Linked DNA regions of Homo sapiens: region 1 is linked to region 2. The links are contacts of gene promoters, found by promoter capture Hi-C in blood cells and fetal thymus (Javierre and others, 2016). All regions are on one chromosome and are shown on one strand. The core of a region is centred on a gene start or on the middle of the fragment in contact, and the rest is flanking DNA. Distances in the headings are between cores, read along the strand shown. Region 1 has its middle 38 kb from the start of KRABD4. Region 2 holds the start of NDP-AS1 (NDP antisense RNA 1).

Region 1 (7,123 bases), core at 286-2,785, 2.5 Mb after region 2:
GGAAAAGTGCATCATTCAGCTCTCAAACTAAGTGATGTAGGCTCTAAATAGCTCCCATGACAGTCTGTCTCAGAAAAGAATGCATTTCACAGAAATATTCAGGGACTCCATTTTTTAAAGAGTTCTTGTAAGCCAGTAAGAACTGAGCATATAAGATATTAGAAAAAAAAAAGGCATGGAAAAAGCTCCTTTAAAAGGCACTCCTGGAAACTTAATGTAATGCCCTTAAAAAATTACTGCCATCCACTGCAACCAAGGATTTGCTGGAGAAGAGGTCAGGCTTTGGGGGAACTTCAATTCATTTTAGAAACAAAACACAAACATCAATATCAGTGGCATAGATATTTACTTAAGCTCATTGGCATTAATTGGTATACCTTTACTGAGATTTAAATGCCCACAACAAATACTCAATGGCAGCTTTCTCAGCAAGTGGGACCAAGTAGATCTTTGGGAAACCAGCTACTGCTGTCACACTCAAGGCAATTCTGGAAGACTCTGTCAAAAACAGAGCACATTGGGCCAGGCCCTGTGGCTCACACCAGTAATCCCAGCACTGTGAGAGGCCAAGGCGGGTGGATCACTTGAGGTCAGGAGTTTGAGACCATCCTGGCCAACATGGTGAAACCCCATCTCTACTAAAAATACAAAAATTAGCTGGGCTTGGTGTGCGCACCTGTAATCCCAGCTACTCGGGAGGCTGAGGCAGGAGAATCATTTGAACCCGGGAGGTGGAGGTTGCAGTTAGCGGAGATCGCGCCACTGCACTCCAGCCTGTCTCAAAAAAAAAAAAAAAAAAAAAAAAAAGAGTGCATTGGTCAGGCCATATCTGAATTCACAGACTTTCACTGCTACCTGGATCAACAAGGTTTTTTAGAAATCAGAAACACAAATCCAGGTCAGGAGGAGAGTTCTTTGCCTATAAAGACAACTGTTTTTCCAACAACTGCAGGTCACCAGGGATGGTGGACGATGAAGGGCTATGAACTTCACTGGAATTTCACAGAGAAGACAGCAATCAAAATAATTTTCTTCTCCCACAACACAGACTTTGAGAGCACTATCTTGCTACTGACTCTTGGCTGGGTGGTGGCTCATGCCTGTAATCTCAGCACTTTGGGAGGCCGAGATGGGTGGATCACGAGGTCAGGAGATCGAGACCATCTCGGCCAACATGGTGAAACCACATCTCTACTTAAAAAATACAAAAATTAGCTGGGCATAGTGGCGTGCGCCTGTAGTCCCAGCTACTCAGGAGGCTGAGGCAAGAGAATCGCTTGAACCCGGGAGGCAGAGGTTGCAGTGAGCCAAGATCGCACCATTGTACTCCAGTCTGGTGACAGAGCGAGACTCCGTCAAAAAAAAAAAAGAACACTATCTTGCCACTGACTCTTAAAATGCTAGAGAAGTTGGGACAATAGTTCATGGGTAGGGATGAGGTTTGAGAGGACAAAAAGAAGATATGGGTACAGATAGCAGGACAAACAAACAAACAAAAAAAAGCATTACTTATTCCAGAAACCATGTTCACTTCTGTCAGGTTTCTCAACTCCAAAGCTAAGCATGTGAAAATTCATTCAAAAGTAGAAAATGACCTATTCCCCACAAGATCATAAATTCCAGGAAATGCCAGGCGCTTTGATTATTATGGCCCATATGCCACAAATTCATTAAAACACAGACCTGTTTAAGTTACAGGAAGCACAGCTTTGTGGAATGAGCACCAGACTGAGTTCTGGCTTGACTGTTCTCTTTTAAGTGATGCTAGGCGATTTGCTTAATCTTTCTCTGAATTCTAACTCTCCAACTGTAAGGAGAAAGAGAGACAGCGGAGAGAAGAAGGCAGGAAAAACTTTCTCCATTTCTCTTGCTTATCATTGAAGGATTCTGTGAGAATTGACGAATAGTATCCTTAGAACACTGAGAGGCTTCTGGAAGCCATTCACATCTTAATGCCACTAACAGCTGCTGCTGATGTGAAGGCATCTTTCAGAGCCGCACGCATGGAGCTTGGTGCATATCCCCATGGGACCCCACAGTGCCTGGGATATCCACAGAGGTTCATACTACACACTTCCTTCTTCAGCAAGTCCCACTTGTAAATGATGGTTCATTGGTATTCTCTGATGTTCCTTGTGTAGGAGGTAGAAGCTGACTGCTTATTTTTAAAATAATTTCTTAAGAGAGATTAAAAAAAAATCAAAGCATTTTAACTGGGGAAAGGAAGGGAAAGGAAACATCTCATTCAGGGATAAATGAATTGATTCATTTGCTCACTCCACAAACTTTTCTGGAGCAGCTCCAATGTGCCAGAAACTCTGCTGGCCTCTACGGATTCAAGGCCGAATGAGGCAGGGCTCTGAGCACAGGGAGCTTGTGGTTTCATGGGAGAGGAAGATGACCAAGCCTGTGATCCTAACAATGTGCTGAGGATAAGACCATGTGCTTACAAGAGCCCATTTTGGCTATATCTAAACTGTTGTGGGGTTTCTAGAAGAGCATGTCATGAGCTGGATTGGAAAGACATATAGGAATTAGACTGAGAAGAAGGAAAGGGTATTCCAGGCAGAAGGACGAGCATCTGCAAACATAGGCATGAAATAGCTTTCCTACATAGAGAAATGGTAAATGAGATGATGTATGAGGATTGCTTAAGAAAGAGTGGGCATTCAACAAATGTTGAAATGAATAGGCAGGGGGCATCAGTGAGAGGCCTAAAGAGCCAGGCAGCTGGTGGTGCCAGCCTAAGTGCCTCACCTCATCCATGAGGCCCTGATTAGGGCTGATTAGGCTGTTAGGGGAAGAGGGAGGAGGGATGGAGTGGTATACCCAGGATCGCAATCTTGCCACACCTGTGCTCACCTTCCATCCTCAAAATTCCATTTGCAGTTTCTGCTGCAGCACCACACAGGTAAAGAGAAAGTGACTGTGTCGGATATGCTTTTCTCAGAATCACTGATTTGACAAGGTGCTTGTCTCTAAATTCATGACTGTAGAACTGCAGAAAATGTGTAGGACTGCTAGACAATGTGAACACTCTTAGCTAAAGAGATACAGCCTTCCCTGGATACCGTGGTCTGAGATCTTAGAGAATGTGTTTTGGTAAGTTGGAGCAGTTATCTTCCAAAAAACACTAAGGATAACCAACGTTTACTAAGCTATCATTAGATGCCAGGCCCTATGATTGTCAGAGGATATCCTGATAGCTAAGAAATGACCTGTGAGAAACTAGCCATTAGAAACACAAAAAGAGCAAGCCCTTGCCAACTTCTGATTAGCACGTGAGATTTCTTTGTTAGTATTTTAAAGATATTCATTTCCCCCAGTTCGGCAATATGGAAGAGACATTTAGACTAAAGAATAAACGTGGAAAATCTTTTAGCACAAATTTCTGGAGCTCAAGCTTGGAAAAGCAGGTGTCTGCTGCCCCCATGTGGCCACAGTCATCTTTTGCTTTCAGCAGTCACATGAAAGTGCATTTCATACACCAACCACGTAGAAGTGTAAAATTAAGACTTTTGGTGGAAAAGACTACAGTCTTGTGTAAGAGTTTTCTCCTTTTCCATGTCTCCAGGGAAATTCTATGATAAAAACTGAAAAATTAAAAAATTTCTCCGGAACGGCCTAGGAGATCCCAGTGGTAAACTCTGGTTTCTCCTTGTTAAATTGAAGGCCTTTGTCTTGGCATTCTGAACTCCATGAATTTCTGAAATGTACAAACTCTTAAAACAGTTCATTTCCAGGAATTCAGTAAACCAATTCTGGAAGCTATTTCAACTAAAGTCTTATCCATGCGCTGTGACAATTGTGAAGAATTTCAACCAAATTTCAAATTGGTAATTTTCAGGTCTTTTTCAACTATCCTCTCCACCCTACACACACTCCTTAAAAATCTGTCATGTAATAATCTTAGCCAAGCAAATACATTTGTTCTTCTCTACACATAGGCTAACAACTACTCAATCAAATTCTTCCCCCATATTTATTTGCCTTTTCTGGAACATTTACTTTATTCTCTTCACACCACAAATTCCTTCTACTATAAGAAATTTCTACCCAGAAATTAATGTTTTCTGCAAGGAGTTCCCAGACTCCACTCAGAAAACTTTGTCAAGCCAATGATTTCAGCATCTTCCACTTGGAGGAAAAAAAAAAAAAACAGGGACACAAATAGAAAGAGAGAAAGAGAGAGAATGACCAGGAAGCCTTTATTATTTACATATTTGCACATAAACTATTCAGAAGCAAGAATCGCATGTAGTCTTTCTAATTTTGCCTTCTCTTACATTATATATATATATATAATATATATATATTTTTAAAATTATTATTATACTTTAAGTTTTAGGATACATGTGCACAATGTGCAGGTTTGTAACATATGTATACATGTGCCATGTTGGTGTGCTGCACCCATTAACTCGTCATTTAGCATTAGGTATATCTCCCAATGCTATCTCCCTCCCCCCTCCCCCCACCCCACAACAAGCCCCAGTGTGTGATGTTCCCCTTCCTGTGTCCATGTGTTCTCATTGTTCAATTCCCACCTATGAGTGAGAACATGTGGTGTTTGGTTTTTTGTCCTTGTGATAGTTTGCTGAGAATGATGGTTTCCAGCTTCACCCATGTCCCTACAAAGGACATGAACTCATCATTTTTTATGGCTGCATAGTATTCCATGGTGTATATGTGCCACATTTTCTTAATCCAGTCTGTCATTGTTGGACATTTGGGTTGGTTCCAAGTCTTTGCTATTGTGAATAGTGCCGCAATAAACGTATGTGTGCATATGTCTTTATAGCAGCATGATTTATAATCCTTTGGGTATATACCCAGTAATGGGATGGCTGGGTCAAATGGTATATCTAGTTCTAGATCCCTGAGGAATCGCCACACTGACTTCCACAATGGTTGAACTAGTTTACAGTCCCACCAACAGTGTAAAAATGTTCCTATTTCTCCACATCCTTTCCAGCACCTGTTGTTTCCTGACTTTTTAATGATCGCCATTCTAACTGGTGTGAGATGGTATCTCATTGTGGTTTTGATTTGCATTTCTCTGATGGCCAGTGATGATGAGCATTTTTTCATGTGTCTTTTGGCTGCATAAATGTCTTCTTTTGAGAAGTGCCTGTTCATATCCTTCACCCACTTTTTGATGGGGTTGTTTGTTTTTTTCTTGTAAATTTGAGTTCATTGTAGATTCTGGATATTAGCCCTTTGTCAGATGAGTAGCTTGCAAAAATTTTCTCCCATTCTGTAGGTTGCCTGTTCACTCTGATGGTGGTTTCTTTTGCTGTGCAGAAGCTCTTTAGTTTAATTAGATCCCATTTGTCAATTTTGGCTTTCGTTGCCATTGCTTTTGGTGTTTTAGACATGAAGTCCTTGCCCATGCCTGTGTCCTGAATGGTATAGCCTAGGTTTTCTTCTAGGGTTTTTATAGTTTTAGGTCTAACATGTAAGTCTTTAATCCATCATGAATTAATTTTTGTATAAGGTGTAAGGAAGGGATCCAGTTTCAGCTTTCTACATATAACCAGCTAGTTTTCCCAGCACCATTTATTAAATAGGGAATCCTTTCCCCATTGCTTGTTTTTCTCAGGTTTGTCAAAGATCAGATAGTTGTAGATATGCGGCATTATTTCTGAGGGCTCTGTTCTGTTCCATTGCTCTTTATCTCTGTTTTGGTACCAGTACCATGCTGTTTTGGTTACTGTAGCCTTGTAGTATAGTAGTTTGAAGTCAGGTAGCATGATGCCTCCAGCTTTGTTCTTTTGGCTTAGGATTGACTTGGCGATGCGGGCTCTTTTTTGGTTCCATATGAACTTTAAAGTAGTTTTTTCCAATTCTGTGAAGAAAGTCATTGGTAGCTTGATGGGGATGGCAATGAATCTATAAATTACCTTGGGCAGTATGGCCATTTTCACGATATTGATTCTTCCTACCCATGAGCATGGAATTTCTTCCATTTGTTTGTATCCTCTTTTATTTCACTGAGCAGTGGTTTGTAGTTCTCCTTGAAGAGGTCCTTCACATCCCTTGTAAGTTGGATTCCTAGGTATTTTATTCTCTTTGACGCAACTGTGAATGGGAGTTCACTTATGATTTGGCTCTCTGTTTGTCTGTTATTGGTGTATAAGAATGCTTGTGATTTTTGCACATTGATTTTGTATCCTGAGACTTTGCTGAAGTTGCTTATCAGCTTAAGGAGATTTTGGGCTGAGACAATGGGGTTTTCTAGATATACAATCATGTCATCTGCAAACAGGGACAATTTGACTTCCTCTTTTCCTAATTGAATGCCCTTTATTTCCTTCTCCTGCATGATTGCCCTGGCCAGAACTTCCAACACTATGTTGAATAGGAGTGGTGAGAGAGGGTATCCCTGTCTTGTGCCAGTTTTCAAAGGGAATGCTTCCAGTTTTGGCCCATTCAGTATGATATTGGCTGTGGGTTTGTCATAGATAACCCTTATTATTTTGAGATATGTCCCATCAATACCTAATTTATTGAGAGTTTTTAGCATGAAGGGTTGTTGAATTTTGTCAAAGGCCTTTTCTGCATCTATTGAGATAATCATGTGGTTTTTGTCTTTGGTTCTGTTTATATGCTGGATTACGTTTATTGATTTTCGTATGTTGAACCAGCCTTGCATCCCAGGGATGAAGCCCACTTGATCATGGTGGATAAGCTTTTTGATGTGTTGCTGGATTTGGTTTGCCAGTATTTTATTGAGGATTTTTGCATCAATGTTCATCAAGGATATTGGTCTAAAATTCTCTTTTTTTGTTGTGTCTCTGCCCGGCTTTGGTATCAGGATGATGCTGGCGTCATAAAATGAGTTAGGGAGGATTCCCTCTTTTTCTATTGATTGAAATACTTTCAGAAGGAATGGTACCAGCTCCTCCTTGTACCTCTGGTAGAATTCGGCTGTGAATCCATCTGGTCCTGGACTTTTTTTGGTTGGTAAGCTATTAATTATTGCCTCAATTTCAGAGCCTGTTATTGGTCTATTCAAAGATTCAACTTCTTCCTCGTTTAGTCTTGGGAGGGCGTATGTGTCCAGGAATCTATCCATTTCTTCTAGATTTTCTAGTTTATTTACATAGAGGTGTTTATAGTA
Region 2 (7,062 bases), core at 3,174-5,673:
ATGTTATTATTAAAAGTCATATCGCCTTATGTTAAAATGGTTGCTTTCAAACTAAGAACACCAGATTGTCTCTTTGTAGGTTACCTCTATATGTCATTAGCGCACTTATTATAGTCATCTCTCACTCTCTCAGTCTGTGCACATATTAAAAGCAAGGATAGGACTTTTTGATCTCAGTATCTCCAGCATTTAGTATTCTAGCTGACACATAGGAGGCACTGTCACATATTCTTAAACCATGCATTTAAGGAAGCAAAAACATTGATTTGAACCTTTAAATATTATGAGCCACACAATGAGACTAGATGGCTTAGATCCAAAATGAATGAATTTCTTTCTTTTTACAGATCCATAAATATATAAAATTTACTGTTGCAGGCTTGGTTCTCAAGAGTCACATACTGAGTTAAAGTTTGTGGTGCAGGATATTTATTAGGGATCAGCATCCATAGAAGACAAGTGGGGAAGCAAGCTTAGGTAGAAAGAGGAGTGCTCATTAGAGTTGTCCTTCACTGGGCCAAGATAGCCAGGCCTTTATACCCTGGCCTTCGTCAATCACTGGATATGAGCCATTCTGGAAGAGCATGTCCTTGGGCAAGGTGACTCCTTGCAGCTGAGGCCGTTCCTGAAGGGGTTGACAGCTGAGGCAACCCCTTTTTAAGGGGGATCTGGCTGGTGCATCTCTATGTTTGCCATAGTCATCAAATTTAAAATGTTCTGTGCCCCACATGAGAAGACGGCATAGAGCACAGGATGACTTTAATCAATGAGACATTTGAAATTAGATTTATAATTGAATAAAAGAAAAGGCTTGTACTGTCATAGATTTATGGTAGAATATACCAAAAATTAATGTACTGAAGACTTACAGAAAAACAAAAGGCTCTAACATTGATTTGTTGGCATGTGATGCCAATTTCTTATGAAATGCTGTCTTTTAGCAGGTGTTGCTGAGTACCTTTTTGTGCGTTGAAACAAGCAAAGAGTTCCTCCCAGAGTGTAATGATGCAGTGATGGGAAGAACTCTTCCCAGATTCAAGTCTCTCTACTGTTCTAGCTCCTGAAGAGAACAGGTGTGTCTGTCCACCAGGAGGTGTCTGTACCCTAGAGTCATGACGAGTGCAGCATCAGCGGGATATGGCTTCCCTTTCTGATCTAAGCTTTCTCACCCCTACCCACCCCTCAGCCCCAATACATTTGGTGTTTCATCTTGGGCAGCTCTCTTGCTCAAGTGTATAGGTTTCAGTGGTGCCCAAAGAAGTGAACAAAAGCAAACCCATACCTTAATTTATTCAAGGTCACAAAGAAGAAATCAACTTACTCAGTTTCCCAGTCATAACGTGTATGCGACCTGCTCTACCTAACACAAAATAATGTGTTGGGTGGACTAGCAAACACAGGAGTTTAGAAGAAAATCAACCACTATTTCCTCAGGACCTAGAAAGGTTGATTTGTCCTTCATTTTGAGCTTCTGGGGATAGTTCAGGAGCTTATGTGTATTAAGATTTAAGGTATTGGTCTGTAAAACTGGGATGTCAAGAAAATCAATTAAGTTCATAAACCTATCTTCCACTGCAGTACTAACTCATTATTATTAAATGCTTAAAAATGATGAGGGCAAGATCAGTTTACAGGAGGCTTGCCCTCCACCATTATAGATTATCAGACAGATTTCTAAGAGGTAAGCTACTAAAATTATAACATACTTTAATTTTCTCATGCATAGTAAATGGGGAAGCAAATGAACACTTCTTAGACATTCCAGGAGTAATGTTTTTAACTGATCAATGTTTTCATTTGGTTGTCTCTCAATCCTTAGGGGTAGACACCAAAATAAGGCTAAATATGTTTAATTTTTAAAAGATAGAAAACAAATTCCATAGTAACTTAATATCCAGTAATGTCTGAAATCTCTCAGTTCCCAAGGCTATTTTTAGGTCTTTAGGGAAAATATAACTATTTTTCCCCTTTCTCAGCCTTGCTATTCCCCTAAACTTTACCCTGTCTCGCCACACTCTAAGATCCTGAAAGGAGCCAGGCTCCTTTCACTGGTGGCAGGAAGGAAATTAAAGCAGTCAGGGTTGTGAGGAGCAGGAAGCGTGGGTTCGAGTTCCAAATCCAAGAGTGTCTGTGACTTTCAGCCAGTTCCTGGATTTCTACAGGCCTCCATTTGCTCATGTATTTAAGGAGAGAAGAGGATGTATGCTTTCTAATAGTTCTTCCAAGGCCACTGTCCTGTGATTCTTTAATGCTCCAAGTATATTCTGCTCATTTCCATGGGGGAAACTTTGTCAATAGACCATGTAATGGGATTTGAAGGGACTATTTTCTATGGCTTCCAGAGAATTTGGAAGATATGAGTCATATAACTGCCCCCTGTAGTCCCAAATTGGTAGAAGGAAATAAAGACTAGAGTTTAGGGTATAGATTATAGATTCTCAAAGAAAATTGAGTTTTTAAGGCCCAGAAAATACTTTTTAAGGCTGGAAGTATTATTTTTCACTTTTTGATTAGCAACATGAAAGAACAGTCATAAATGTGACCAACAGTTAATACTTTCATTATCAGTTAAAAATTATAACCATTTAACTTTCAGTATTAAATTTAATTCCATTTATGACAAAATTCTTCATGTAATGGTCCAAACTGCCATTTCGCATTTGCCTTCAGAATGAGGAGAACCTCCAATTTAGGAGACTGGCTGGCTGTGTCACCACAGAGATTAAGATCAAGGTCAAGATTTAATAGCATTAGTTTCATTCTGTTTCAAAGCCATGAATACAAGTATAACCCTGCTGGCTTTCTTAAGAATGTGTGAAAGCTGTGCCAAAGAGTGTTCAAAACCATTATCTCTACTGGAAAAGTAATTCACAGGTTGGCTGTACTAACAGTGGGGGAGTTAATATCATCTCTAGTTAACCAGGACAAGGTTGCCCTGGAAACTGAATTGCCAAGTCTGGATTTGTATTGAGATACCTAAGAGGGACATAGCACTGTGCTAACATCATGAGTATTCTTGTAATGCCCAGTAATATCATTCGATCCTGAGCACTGCACAGTCAATGGCACAGAAATGTTGTTAACTATTTGTCCTTCTGCTGGTTCTTCCAACTTCACTTATGGATATTTATTTTCTTCTGAGAAAAGTGAAGAAATTAAAAAGGAGGGGACTCCTCTGTTTCATTCCATAGCTTCCAAGGAAGCCAAAATGCATTAGATTTTGTGTTTATTCAATGGGCTAAAATCTAAAACTCAGAGTCAAATTTAATAAGCCCTCAACACCTTGTTACATTGATTTCAAAAAAATGTTCCCACAATGCATTCTGGAACCCCATTTCTGTCTCCTTTTTTTTTTTTTTGACTCTTTTACTATATCATAGGAGATGCTCAAGCACTAGCTACATGTATGTTCTAGTCCACATGATAGTAGGATATCAAGTAGGAAAAAAATACTTAAACAGTCAAAATTTTGAATATACTCTTTTTATTTCAAAACGTGGGAATAACTCAAAATTTGAGCCTCCAGGACCAAAACACATTTGAACCAAACGTTCAGAAGACAAGCCAGGCCACCATTTTGGCAACATGTTTCACATGGACAAGTGGATATTAGAGAATGATGCCCGTGACACGGCTAAAGCTATAGCACACCCACAAATAGATTCATACTTGGTTGTCTAATTTGCATGCATGAGTATGGTGCATTCTCCATGCCACTAGTACATATATGCCTTTTCCAGAGTCAGTGCAGGATCCGTATTTGTGCAAGTCTTTAAAAGTCTGCTCCCTTACAAAATTTTACCATAATTTATCTGAGACAGCCTTCCTGTGACAAATTCTTTATGCTGCTTTTACTTTCAAAAAGTCATTTCTGAATAATAATTATAGCTGTCAAGAGTTCCAGCATCACATAAAAGAATCTGTTTGTTAGTTATTTTAATGTCAGTTCGCTGGCTGTGAGTAAACGTAGCTAAACATATCCACATGCTTGGTATCTGGACTTTGAAATCGGTAACCTTTAGCAGCAATGGCAACCTTAGACCAAAATGACAAGGTAAAAAAAAACATCAACAATAACAGAAGATGTCCCAGGAAAAGCTGGGCTTTTCTACTTTCCAAAGTAAATTCTTCCCCAGCGTGCACCAAACACTGACAGCCTGACACGCTTGTGTATGAGGGCCCACTTTTTCCCACTAATGCTGAATTGTTGGAAACCCAAACAGCATTGAGAGCCAAGGGGGAAAATGCCTGAATCTGAAAATGAACCAAAAGAAATTGTACCAGAGAAAGGAGATGGGAACTGCAAAGAAGTTCCCAGAGTATCTCTCTCTGTCAACAAGCATGTAGAGTCTTTATTACTAGAATATGCAGAGTCCCGGGAGAATTGTTGCATCCTTTTTTGCCTTAACTCTTTTCTTGCCAGTCTTTCCCTGGCTGGTCGAACTGCCTCTACAGTTGTCCCATCCAGAAGCCACACACAGCAGCGGGCCTCAGGAATTGCATTCCTCGCAGTGACAGGAGAGGATGTACCGGTAGGTGGCAGTGAGTCGCATGCCCCCTGAGCATCGCAGCCGCAGTGCCTTCAGCTTGGAAGTCTGGGGCCGGCAGCAGTGACAGGAGGAACGGAAGGGTTGCTTGAGGACAGTGCTGAACGACACCAAAGGCTCGGAGCGTGACGCCTGGCTGCAGTGCCCCTCGCACCTGGCCAGGAGCACCATCTGGGGAAAGAAAAGGAGGTGGTTACTCTGTGGGCATGCCACAACCTTAGCCAGGTAAAACAGCATCTTTTGAAAGACCCTCACACTCGTTGCCAATTCCTGCTAGATTAGACCAGTGGCTCAATGCATGTTGCATTTTTTTTAAGTCAACACCCAGGCCTCATTCAGATCGATTGAATTAAAATCCTTGGAGATAGGGACCAGGCTTTCATGGTTTTCAAAGCTTCTTAGGTGATTTCTAAGTGTACTGAGGGTTTAGAACCACTGAATGACGCCCATCACTGTGATGTGCGAGTAAAAACCAAAGAACAAAAGAAATTTCTCCTGACAGGTAGTGGTCTACCACTGGCCCAATGCATTGCAATTCTACCAGTAGCAAAATGCAGAAAGTCAATCCAAATTGAAACCAAGAAGTAAATTAAAATGACTACCAAAAAAAAAAAAAAAAAAAAGAAATTGATTTGTGCAGGAAATAGCTAAAGAACAGGAATATAGTTTCTGAATAAGAAAATAGGATAGCCTGAGTAATGCTTAGGAAGAAATATTCTGGGTGCTGCAATTTGGGACAAGAGAATGAAGTAGAGACAGGGCATGTCTGGGGCCCTGAAATCACACTTCTGGGTTTATATGTTGAAGGAGCCTGGGATTTATGTAATTGCATCCGCATCTTCAGAGTCATTTGCGGCAAATATTAGGATGTACCCATTCTGATAATCTCTATTTCCAAAGATTGGGCTGGAATAACGGAGGCTATGTGTTCTTTATAGTAGCTCTTAATCTGGCTTTAGCAAACAGACACCTTTAAGAATCTGATGAAAACTACCAAAGTTATCCCCAGAAAAATGTACATAAGCACACACACAATTTGCATACAGCTTAACGGAATGGAAAAAAGGATCATTTATGTATCCCATACAAAACTCCTGGTATCCTGGGAGTGGGAGTAATAGGTGGGTAGGGTGGGACAGCTTGACTCATTAAGCTGCATAATCCTAATATCAAGGTGGGGAGGGGAATGGAGAATCTGAGATTATTGGTCCCATGGTTATGTAAGAGGTTTTGCTTGGTGAATTTCATGTTAAGTGATGGAGAAAAAAATCCCCTGGGCCAGGTGTATTGTCTCATGCCTATAATCCCAACACTTTGGAGTCTGAGGCAGGAGGATCACTTGACCCCAGGAGTTTGAGACCAGCCTGGGCAACATAGCATGACCGTGTCTCTAAAAAAAAAAATAAAAAGTTAACCAGGCGTGGTGATGTGCACCTGTAGTCCCAGCTACTTTGGCAGCTGAGGCAGGAGGATCACTTGAACCCAGGAATTAGAGGCTGCAGGAAGCTATGATCAAGCCACTGTACTCCAGCATGAGTGACAGAGCAAGGCCCTGTCTCAAAAAGAAAAGAAAAGAAAAGAAAAATTTGTCCTATAATTCCAGAACCAACAGCAAGATCATAAAAAGTGAAACTGTTCAAATGAAAGATTAAAAGATACATATATATGCATGAAACCTTTTGACGTTTACCTTACAATATTGTAGGAATTCGCAGTTATTATTAAAGACTCACCAGCTATTATCTCTGACATCATCCTGTAGGGCAGAATTAAACACCCAAGGTTTACAAGAAAAAAATAGCCAGTCCATCTTTCCAAAAGGGAGAAAAGATGAATTCTGGTAATTATAGATTATTGGCATAGTTATCTGAGAATATACTGGGGCTAAATCCAACAATCACTTAGCAACCACCAAGGCAATATGAAATACTAGAAAAAAAAAACAGCAGGGCTTAGGGAAGAATAAGTTGGACTAGACCAGTGAATTTATTTTCTCTGAATGATCGCAGAGGCAGAGAGAAAATAGCAGCTGTAAGCTGTTTTGATTTTTTTAAAGCTTTTGATTCTATCCTACCTGCTCTTCATTTTGACAGGCAAAGTAAACTATCAGAAATGATTGTTTGTTTGTTTTGTTTTGTTTTTAGAGACAGAGTCTTGCTATGTTGTCCAGGCTGCAGTGCAGTGGTTATTCACAGGCATGATCATAGCACACTACAGCCTTAAACTCCTGAGCTCAAGGGATCCTCCTGCCTCAGCCTCCTGTGTAGCCAGGACTACAGGCATGTACCACTGTGCCTGGCTCTGAAATGGGTTTTGAGAGACTATGCCATAGGTCAGTAGTACACAGGCTAGTCCCTAATTCCCACCCCCATTTCTCTAATGAGAGAGAGAGTCCAAGATCTTCCTTAGTCTGTTCTCCCCCCATCTCCCTGTATGTGGGAAGAGCTGCTTGATACCTCACCTTGGAGTAGTGTTAAATTTGCTAATCTCTCATCTAGATCATCTATTAGGTTGA

The links. The method cuts DNA at HindIII sites, captures the fragments that hold promoters and counts their contacts. A CHiCAGO score of 5 or more calls a contact.
Region 1: a fragment that was not itself captured here is called in contact with the fragment with the promoter of NDP-AS1 in region 2 in 4 of 17 cell types (total B cells, total CD8 T cells, fetal thymus and 1 more); the score reaches 9.0 in total B cells.

The regions. Positions count from the first base shown.
Region 1 is chrX:46,405,571-46,412,693 of GRCh38, forward strand. No RefSeq gene overlaps it. Among named protein-coding and RNA genes, the nearest start is that of KRABD4, 38 kb to the right of the region's middle. The HindIII fragment of the contact is 3,732 bases long and covers 1-3,401 here.
Region 2 is chrX:43,945,309-43,952,370 of GRCh38, forward strand. NDP-AS1 (NDP antisense RNA 1) reads left to right here and starts at 4,424. Exons shown (of 6, transcript NR_046631.1): 1 at 4,424-4,772. It overlaps NDP (norrin cystine knot growth factor NDP), which reads right to left. Exons shown (of 3, transcript NM_000266.4): 3 at 3,468-4,718. The coding sequence ends at 4,491. RefSeq lists enhancers at 4,101-4,618, 4,619-5,135. The HindIII fragment of the contact is 3,781 bases long and covers 1,159-4,939 here.